Linked DNA regions of Homo sapiens: region 2 is linked to region 1. Evidence: promoter capture Hi-C in human tissues and cell types (Jung and others, 2019). All regions are on one chromosome and are shown on one strand. Each heading gives the region's core, a stretch centred on a gene start or on the middle of the fragment in contact. The rest is flanking DNA. Distances are from core to core; before and after follow the strand shown. Region 1 holds the start of TBX15 (T-box transcription factor 15). Region 2 overlaps LOC107985447 (a long non-coding RNA gene).

Evidence for each region. The method cuts DNA at HindIII sites, captures the fragments that hold promoters and counts their contacts. A contact is called where the count stands out against the background at its distance.
Region 2: a fragment that was not itself captured here is called in contact with the fragment with the promoter of TBX15 in region 1 in 2 of the 25 tissues and cell types used here (bladder and thymus).

What each region holds. Positions count from the first base shown.
Region 1 is chr1:118,984,235-118,989,592 of GRCh38, forward strand. TBX15 (T-box transcription factor 15) reads right to left here and starts at 4,109. Exons shown (of 8, transcript NM_001330677.2): 1 at 3,357-4,109. The coding sequence starts at 3,561. RefSeq lists enhancers at 979-1,656, 2,976-3,509, 3,510-4,042. The HindIII fragment of the contact is 7,773 bases long and covers 1-5,358 here.
Region 2 is chr1:118,815,314-118,820,671 of GRCh38, forward strand. The region is part of intron 1 of LOC107985447 (a long non-coding RNA gene); the gene reads right to left. Among named protein-coding and RNA genes, the nearest start is that of TBX15, 170 kb to the right of the region's middle. The HindIII fragment of the contact is 7,268 bases long and covers 1-5,358 here.

The DNA.
Region 1 (5,358 bases), core at 2,859-5,358:
GATGTGCCTGTCTAGGTGCCCACCCGCGCGCGCCACCACATCCCCAGGCCTCTGGAACGCAGCTGCTGTGTGGCCCGGCCCGAAGTTTCTGGAGGAGGAAATCCCTCCACAGAAGGTTTACATTATTTCGCTCCGCGGGAGACCCGGCTTCGGCAGCACTTAGCAGAAGATTTTGGCGGGAAAGGCCCAAGCCCTAGCTGAGGACTCCGGGTGGAGCAGGGGCTGAGGTCCGAGCGCAGATGGCGCCGCCGAGCGCCTGAAATATACTTGCAAGGCCGCAGCAATATACTTGCAAGGCCGCAGCCGGAGCAGCTGTTCCAGCCGATCCTAGCTCGAAAGTTCCTCTGTTGCTCTGGGAGAGGGCGGGGGAGAGCAGGCTCGAGAGCCAGGCTCCTCCGAGGCTGGTCTTGAGGCACTTCTCTAGTAGCTTCTCCAAAAGACTGAGAGTGCCGGCGTAGGTATGACAGTGAGGGTACCTCACAGACCCTTCTCCAAAGTCTGGCGGGCCTTGGGGTTTTTCGGGGCCACCAGGCTCGGTGGAATTTTTGAAACGCTTTCGAAATACATAGTTTCCTCTGTGGAGTGAGTGCCTACAACGCGCAGGCCGGACTGATCCCCCGTTGCTGCAGGTTGGTGCCCCAAGCTGCGGGTGCTCGGGCGCCAACTAAAGCCAGCTCTGTCCAGACGCGGAAAGAAAAATGGGCTGTGAAAAAGCAAAAGGCCTCGTCTTTGAATGAAAGTTAAACATTAAAATCTGACCCTAGAGTTGTCTAAAGATCGCGGAATTTTGAAGCTCCGGCAGAGCGGACTAAAAAACGGTGCTATGAGAGATGGTGAGAATACTCTAGGCATGAACGTGTGCGTGTGTGTTTGTGTGTGTGTGTGTGTTTCATTCTTCCCGCAAAACAATTTTTTGTTTTTTTCCTATTCCCGGTTTGTTATCGGCCTAGGGCGGGAGAACCACGCAGCGGCTTCTGGGCCCTAAGGACAAAAGAGTTAAAACAATGAGGCTCACCCGGGAAGAGACGCTGCCCTGGGCACAATAGGGTCGCCTGCATTACTCCTCCATACACACATCTTTAAATGTGTCCCTGTGTGTGTTCGTTAGGGTGCTGTATTACAGAAAAAGAAAGGCCTAAAAACACCCCCAGCCCTGGTCGCGCCTTTCGCTACCGCCTGAGTCTGGAGCCGACAGCTCCACCTCTTCTGCTCCCTGGACCGCCGCGTCTCCACGCCACGGCGCCCTTTTTACTAAAAGATCTTTTCTCATCCTATCAGCAAATCGTTAAGAAAGGCTTAGCCATTGCGGGGGCTCCAACTTAAGGATTCCCCCGGCCCACTAAAAGGCTAGGCCCGGCCTGTAGCCCAGCTCCGCAGAAAGCCAGAGGGTGCTGGGCTTTCAGCTTCTTCCTCCTAGACACTTGCCCCACAAATATATTTCGTTTTCTCTAATCCAAATACCCATCTTTTTCTTTTTTAAAAAATGATAACGTAATGGGAAATGACCAACCGAACTCTGTTACATAAAGTTAGTTCTGTTAGATCTTCCACCCCACCCCCATCCCGCGGGAGCGAGTAAATAGAATTCATGAGCTTAGCTCCCCAGGTTCACGCTCTGGAATGGTTTCTTTTTGCCTCATTCCCTAAGTTTTCTCTCTTCTGCCTCCTGAATGGAGCTCAGGCTAAGGAGAACGGCAGAAAGAGCAAACTCTGATCTGAATCTCTAATTATGACCCCATGTATTACCCATTTGAACATAAGGCCCTAGACGGGCTCCGTGCGATCTGGGGCCTCCCAAGAGAAAACTTCCCCGGGACAGGACGTCTGCCACGCGCAGCTAAACAACTTCTGTTTTTTCCGCCGTGGGGAAAATAAAAGAACCTTACAAATTCTAAGGCGTCATAACCCCTGCAAGAACTTCTAACTGTATGAAGGCCCACGCGAGATTTTGACAATAGATAAATGAGCTGAGGAAATAGGGTCTGGCCAGCGAAGGGAAACACACAGTAGCCCTGGGTGCCTTTCTGGAATGCCCACGCAGGGGTCCGCGTGGACAAGCACTTGCATTCAAATACAGGAAAAGGCTTGGACGGTCGAAATAAATCTCCTTTTAATTTTCTTTTCATCGACTAATAAAAATAATTCCCCAGCACTAAACTCAAATACCGTAACGGGCCACAAAAACACGGAGAATTCATAAAACTCTATCTCTGCAGGTCACCCGCTAATCGCATTATTATTAGCCTCGGGAGCATGGAAATTGAACTGTCACTGCCTAAAGAGAAAATGTAAGCGACAGCTGTCCCTCCTCTGAGTTGGACAGCTTTGTGGCTGAGATCCCCAAGCTCCTGAGCCCCAGACCGTCTCTATCCCAGTGCAGGCCGCTGCCCCCTCCCCGGGCTTGTCAGCGTGTGAAGCGGGGTCTACTCCCCAGCTCTGGCTGTTCAGCAGGAGCACCTTCCAGCATGGTTTTAGAAGTCCGGGCTGGAAAGCTTCTGAAACCGCTAAACCAAGTTGCGAGCGTTGTATGTGCGCGCGCGCACACTCAAGATTCTTCCGACAACAGCTGTTCCCCCGGGCTGTTTTTGCACAGTTGAAATCTTGGCACTTAACACAAAACGTTAAAGTTGGCTTCTCCCCTCCTAGGGTTCTGTTAAAATACAGACATGACATCCCCCCTGCTTTTTACATGTTCCGTGCACATAATATACATGGGTTACTGTAGGATCTGAGACACAAATCAATCGTACCCACACCCTAAATACACAGAGATGTGGGCCCTGAAGAGTGACCCAAGGAGTAAGGGGTCTAACATCCATTCTTGTTTCCGTAAACGCCAAAGGAGTAGAAATATAATTATGTTCCACCATCGAAAAGTTGGTGGGAGAAAGGCAAGGACGAGGTTGAAGGCTAAATGAGACAACTGGTCATTCCCCGAAGACTGAGGTATTGGATTGGAGAACGCCGCGCCAGTCCTCCCGAGTTCTCAGAAGCGAGTCCTAGATCTCGGCTCCCGCCGTTGCCTTCGGCCCGCGCCCCTCCCAATCCCAGGGACCGGCAGCCCTTCATCCACGGACACCCAGAAAGCTGCGCTCTCCACCCAAAAGAAAAAGAAATGCAAACAAACAGGACTCCTTGCTTAGGCTGGCGACGAAAATGCAAGGCTCAGTCCAGCCCCAAAAATTGGTTCCGGTGAATTTAGGGAGGCTCAGGGCATTTGCGCGAAGAAACAGAAACCTATGTTGGGGCAAGGCAGGGCGTCAATGGCAGGGCCTAGCTCCTCACCCGCGACCGGCGACTGGCCCTTCGGCGTCCCCTCTCCGCCCGCCTCCCGCGGTCGGCTGCGACGCACTCACCCGGGTGAGGCTCCAGGCCGTGTGCCGCCGCGTCCTCCGTGTCTCCGAGTGGGCCCGCGGGGCTCAGCGCCTCCATAGACAGGTCCAGCCCCTTCTCCTCCCAGTCTCGCAGTTTCCGTTTTTTATTTGAGCCGATCAAGGCTTCAACGGAGAAGGCATGTGCTCGCGAGCTCAGGGCGACTGCAGATCTTCTCCTTTCACTCATTTTAGCCGCCCACACCCCTGCCTCCGCTTGCCCCCGCTACCGAGGGAGCAGCCGGCGCCCTCAAGCTCTGAGCGCCCACCGGGCCCGGCCCGGGAGAGGCGGAGGCGCGTCGGACGAGGCTGAGACTGCGGCTCGCGGGTCTCTCCACCCTCCCCCTGCGTCCTCCTCCGCCCTCCTCTGCCGGATCCGACCTGCGCCCCTACGCTGGCCCAGCTGCTAGGAACTAGCGCCCCGAGCGCCGCCCGCTCGCTGCATGAGCGCCCGAGTCCTGCTTCCCACCCACCGGGGCAGGCGCTCACAGACTGTGTCCACTGAACTTCATCTTGTTTTTGTTATTATTATTATTCTCTCTCCTCTCTCTCTCTCTCTCTCTCTCCCCTCCCTCTCTTTTTCTCTCCTCCCCCTCTCTCTCTCTTCCTCTCTGCCTTCCCGTCCTCCCTGTGATCCAAACTTCTGGGAAACTTTTTTTTCCGCTAAATTCCTCCCTTCCCGAGGAACAGGGGGCAGGCGGTGCGCTCCTGTCCGAGGGGTGAGGGAGAGGGAGGGGGAGGAAGAAAAAGACTGAGGGGGAAAAAAGCCAGCCCCCAACCAATAGCGAGGAGGGAACAAGAGAAACTCCGAGAGCGCGAACCAATGAGAGGAAGGGAGAGACTGAGGCCCGGGCCAAAGCGCAGCGCCAGTCGTCCCCTGGATGCTCCTGGGCCGACTTTAACCCCTGGCTTCCCGGTTTCCCCATGGGTTACTCCAAGAGGGAGGTAGGACAGTTGAAAGTTGAGGTCTGATCTGCGCCTTTACAAACTCCTGCAAATCCCAAATCCATACGTTTTTCTTCCAGATCTGCTGGTCTCATAGACGCTGCAAGTCCAGAGTCACTTTAGTTGCAGATCTGGAATTTTGGGGCTCTGACAAAATGTTAACCTGTCCAAAATGCCAGAAAACGATTCTGATAATTTCGCGTCAGCCCCTAGGTGCTTTAGAATATTCTGGTTCCTCCTGGATTTCGCCACACAGGTTTTAATGTTCCTACTGAACGTTTTCTAAGCAAATCTGGGTAAGGCAAAAGGAAACAAACAAACAAGCAAACAGAAAGCCCTGTTACTAACCAGGGTCTTGTAACTGAAAATTCAAAGACCGCTTCCTCCTTCCAGCTCTACCTGGTGGAGAAGGAGACACAGGCGCCTTGAGAGCAAGGGGCGGGCGGCGGAGCGCGGGGTTTAGGGCGAGCTCCTCAGGCGTATTCCAGCTGGGCCCCCTCACGCCGCAAATACTCTCTTTCCCTACGGCCCGAACGCTGGGCTGCGCTTCGCCTGTTCCGGGCTCTTGTTGCAGAGAACCTATGGAGAGGTGACAGGCAAGAACAGCTAGGAACTTTAACAGAAGAGAAGGAGCTTTTTCAAAATTCCCTGCAAATCCCGTTACCTCAAGACCATGGCTTTCCCGGCCAGCTGATCTCCCCCCTGGCCGCCCCCTGCCTTTTGCGATCTCTAAGGACTGCATTCAACATGGATTTCTAAGGAATTAAAAAATCCAACGCTCCTGGCCATTCTTAATTCCCACACCTCTTCCCAAGTTACGCCACCGGTCGAGGACGGCAGGAGACCCCCGAGTGCAGAGAAAGCTCAAACCGGCAGCGAAGTCGGTCCTAGCCAAGCTGAAAAAACGTCTCGGATTTCGCGGACAGCGGCCTAGACACAGCCCGATCTTCCAGTCCTAGTGCCCTGGTCGAGACGGTTCTATCCTTTTGCAAAGAAGCCGGAAAGAGCTGGGTCCCGGGGGCGGGGGACAGACTGAGAGGCC
Region 2 (5,358 bases), core at 1,692-4,191, 170 kb before region 1:
TGAGCATAGCTCACCATCCAAAATGCTTCTAGTTTTGAAGCCTCCTTCTGAGCATCAAAAAAGTTGAGATGATTTGCCAGGTGTGCGAGTTCTTGCTGTGTGCCAAAGTAATGCGCCAAATCACTCAGGAAGAGACATAAGATTTTCCAGTGTCCAGATGAGCCAATGAAATATGCTTTCAAATGCTTGAAATATAAATTGACTACCTTTTGTGAAAAGATTCTCTGTTATAACTGAAACCTGGCAAGAGTAGGAGCAACCTGAGGGGACTTTCTCCTCTCTGACTTGAAAGCCCTGGGGAAGTGGGGTTTCACTTTTAAGCAGGTCTGGTTGCCAATGAATTCAGTATGATTGGACCTCACATTTTAGATGCCAGGAAATTTTCATTAAAAATAAAACTCTTGAAACTTGACCTTTTATGGTCATAAAATTCCACACCATTTAGCACATTAACTAGCACCTGAAATGATGAGGGAACGTCTTGATTTAGTTTAGCATAGAAAGCATCTGATAAAATGAGATCCGTAGGGGCATCTCTGAGGTTTTATAATTACCATGAGCTGTCATCAGTACATTATATCTGTTGTCTTCCTGATTCATTAGGATCATTATAGCTAAATCCACTGTAAGTAAAATGGTGGAAATGTCCATAGGCCATCCACCATGTATTCCACAGATGAACAGAACCAACAGGGCAGATAAAGGCTGAATAAAGTGACAAAAAACACTTAGCTTTAACTTGGACCCCCTTCTAAACTGGTGCTATTTCACAAAACCTTTGATTCCTCACCACTTTCCTTTCCAAAAGTACAAAGTCAAAAAGGAAATGAGGGTAAAAGAGTGATGCGTCAGAGGTTTCATAATTATGTAAAAGTTCACTACCCTCCCTTCCAAAAGCACAAAAAGCCAAAAAGGAAACGAGGATAAGAGAGTGATGTGTCAGAAGGTTTTATAAATATATGAATGTTTATTTACACTAAATAAAATTATAATTTCCCCAAAGTTTCAGAGTTTCAGAATATTCCTGTCTTGTTTTTGTCTCAACCAAGCCGTGTTCTACAAATATTTACACAATCATAAGGCAGATCTATTTCAGGAAATTGAAGAACTGAGAACATTCTCCAGATAATTTACTGTAAATTATTATCATCAATAATATGTTCTAGCTCCTAAACCTCTCTTCTTCTGAAGAAAATATTATATTTGGATGATGATGATGAGCCTCATAACCCCAGTCACATTCTGTTTCTTTGTGCCTGGGTAGGTCATGAATACTGAGGACTTCCTCCTTTCCTTATATTTTTTATATGCAGATAAAACCTTACAAGGAAATTCACACAAAAAAATAATAACAATTAACTATAGATAATGGGATAAAGAGTCATATGTTTTTAATATTTTCAAAAATTTTAACTAGAATAATGTATTACTTTTCAAATAAGGAGGGAAAAGACCATAAAGTTTGTTTGAAGAAAGGTTCTAGGGCCCAGTTCTCATTTAATTAGGGTTTTTCCATATATATGGAAGATACTCAATTACCTGGAGTTCATCTACATCACTTTATCTTCATACATGATGAAGGACTCCCAAGTCTTTGTATTCACAACCCTGCACTCTTTCTGCCACCTTTCACCAATTAGCCTTTTTCTGCATCCTGACAAAATGGAATTTGCCTCTAAATTGTTTCTCAACCCACATACTTCCTCAGTGAGAATCAATGTAAGAAGCTACCATCCCTTACCAATGTATGAAACAAGGCCCTGAATATAAGACCTTAACCATCTGCATTTATTCAACTCCTACTGATTGAGTAATTGAGAAGGCTTGGCAGATTCTAATCTGGTCACACTAGATTCTAGTTCTGCCTCTTGAAACCATAGAAGGAATAGAATACATAATTCTTCATTCCCTGTCTTCAAGTTCTGGGAAGCCTCTCAGGGTTAAACAGCTGCCGCATTCCACCTCTAATATAGACACGTAGTGGAAGGTAAAATGATCCCAATAGTGAGTTTGTGCTTGAGCACAGAGAAAATTTTAAAGTGCTTTGAGATCTTTCAGGGTAGAAATATACATAGTTCCTAATTTAAAAACATGGGTTTCGTTGAATTTGAAGCTTAAACATTCTTCTAAATGGCCACACCTGTCAGCTAAATGAAATGGAGAGGGAAAAAGACAGAAACAGATTCAACAAAGCATTAGATACCAAAAAGACATGTTCAGTTGATTAAAGCTTTTTTTAGTCAGCTTGCTTTGATGTTGCCTAGACATATCTATTCTAGAAGAAAGGGGAAATTCACCTTCTCTGAGGTCTGCTAACATCCTTTAGGACTTGACAAGGTAATGGGGATGAGACAGCAGTGTCTCACCCAAAGGGACAATTGATAAATAATCTTCAAAGGGAGAATGCTTGGAAGCAAAATTGTCTTACGTTTGTAAGATGTCCATGTTGGATATCACGAAATAAATAAGAATACGTGAGATAGCTTCTCCATAATGCTTCCCATTGTTTGATGCACCCAATATGGTTTTTTAAATATCTAGGAATACTTACATATCTTAGGAATTACAATGAGACATTATTCAGTAAGCCTATGAAAAGCAAAATTAATTTTTAAGTTTAGATGCCATAAAAGGGCACTTTGGTCTGCCTCAATAATTCTGATCATTAGCCAGATAAGACCTGCTGGCTACACTGTACTGCTGAAAAAAAAAATTACAAGAAAATGTAGAGTCTTCTCTCTAGTGTAACTCAGATAAAATGCTTAGGTTTTTATTAATCATTAGAAATAAATCTCTATTTGGAGATTCAGAATAGTAGCATCAAAAGTTATATTATAAAAACGCATAAATGCTACCTAAGACCAACTTTTAGGTTACCTGGAGGCCTCTCAAAACAATACTACAGGAGTCGTGGGTCTAAAGGAGAGCATACATAATAAAAAACATAGTAAAAAAGGATCTGCTCTGGACCTCACCTTGTTTATAACCTTATGTGGATCACTTCACTTAAATCAAATTATCTCTGCATGAACATCGAGGTGTAAATGTTTATACTAAGTATGAGTATTCTTCCTACAACAGGTGATTTGGCCAAAAATGCCCTCTGGTCCCAAGTTATATATTTTGATTGTGTGGACATCCATTCTCACATTTTAAGGGAATAACACAACTCAACACCCAGAAAGGTATAAAGATAACTGCTTTATGATTGTTTGAGGTTGGAGTATATATCAACATCTTATTTTTTTAAGTTTACCTCAAGATTAAACTCTGCCTTTTTAAAAACTTTGCCTTTTTAAAAACAAATCTTTTCCTTATGGTTCCAGCTTCAAGTGTTTATTAGATCACACAGACATCTGTCAATAGAAAGAATTACTCTTTTCCCATAAAGGAAGATAAGGAAAGACCTCTCTGGAAATTGTGAAATTTCTAGAGGATGAGGCACCTACTTCTGCAAAGATTATCTGAGATTTAGAAATTTGTGCAAAAAATTACAGATTCAATGCTATTCCTATCAAACTACCAACATCATTCTTTACAGAATTAGAAAAAAAATTCTAAAATTCATATGGGACCAAAAGGGAGCCTGAATAGCCAAAGAAGTCCTAAGCACCACACTACCTGAATTCAAACTATACTATAGAGCCACAATAACCAAAACAGCTTGGTACTGGTACAAAAACAGACAAATAGACCAATGGAACAGAATAGAAAAATCAGAAGTAAAGCCACATACCTACAACCATCTGATCATCCATAAGGCTGACAAAAACAAGCAATGGGGAAAGGACTCCTTATCAATAAATGGTGCTCGGAAAACTATTAATAGCTCGGCATATCCAGAAGATTGAAACCAGACTCCTACCTCTTACCATATATAAAAACTAACTCAAACTAAATTAAATATTTAAATGTAAGATCTCAAACTATAAAAATACTGGAAGGCAACCTAGGAAATACTCTTCTCAACATCAGCCTTGGTGAAGAATTTTTGCCTAAGTCCCCAAAAGCAATTGCAACAAAAACAAAAATAGACAAGTGGGGCCTAATTAAACTAAAGAGCTTCTGCACAGCAAAAGAAACTATGAACAGAGCAAACAGACAGAACAGGAGAAGATATTTGCAAATTATGCATCCAACAAAGGCCTAATACCCAGAATGTATAGACAACTTAAACAAATCAATGAGCAAAAAACAAATAACCCAATGAAAATATGGGCAAAAGAGTCCAGGTGCAATGGCTCACACCTGTAATCCCAGCACTTTGGGAGGCTGAGGCGGATGGATCACGAGGTCAGGAGATGGAGACCATCCTGGCTAACACAGTGAAACCCTGTCTCTACTAAAAAATACAAAAAAATACAAAAAAAATCAGCCGGACATGGTGGTGGGGGCCTGTAGTCCCAGCTACTCGGGAGGCTGAGGCAGGAGAATGATGTGAACCTGAGAGGCAGAGCTTGCAGTGAGCCAAGATCGCGCCACTGCACTCCAGCCTGGGCGACAGAGTGAGACTCCATCTCAAAAACAACAACAACAAAAAAAAAAGGCAAAAGACATGAACAGACACTTCTCAAAAGAAAGCGTACATGTGGCCAACAAACATATGAAAAAAATGCTCAGCATCATTAATCATGAGGGAAATGCAAATCAAAATCACAATAAGATACCATCTCCCACCAGTCAAAATGGCATTATTAAGAAGTCAAAAAATAACAGACTTTGGCAAACCTGCAGAAAAAAGGAAGTACTTATACATTGTTGATGGGAATGTAACTTAGTCCAGCCACCGTGGAAAGCAATCTGAAGAAGATTTCTCAAAGAACTTGAAACAGAGCTACCATTCAACCCAACAATCCCATTACTAGGTATATACCCAAAAGAAAATAAATCATTCTACCAAAAAGACACATGCACTCATATGTTCACTGCTGCACTATTCGCAATAGCAAAGACATGTATTCAACCCAGGTGCCTATCAATGGTAGATTGAATAAAGAAAATATGGTACATGTACACCATGGAATACTATGCAGCCATAAAACAATGAAATCACGTCCTTTGCAGCAACATGGATGGAGCTGGAGGCCATAATCCTAAACAACACAGGAACAAAAGCCAAGCATCACATGTTCTCAGTTATAAGTCAGAGCTAAACATTGAGCACACATGAACAGAAATATGAGAACAATAGACACCGTGGACTACTGCGTGGGAGATTAAAAAAAAACTACCTACGAGGTACTATGCGCACCACCTGGGTGATGGGATCTGCACTCCAAACTTCAGCATCATGCGATATTTCCATGTGACAAATCTGCAGTTGTAATTTGAAAGTTGGTATTTTAAAAGAGGCATACT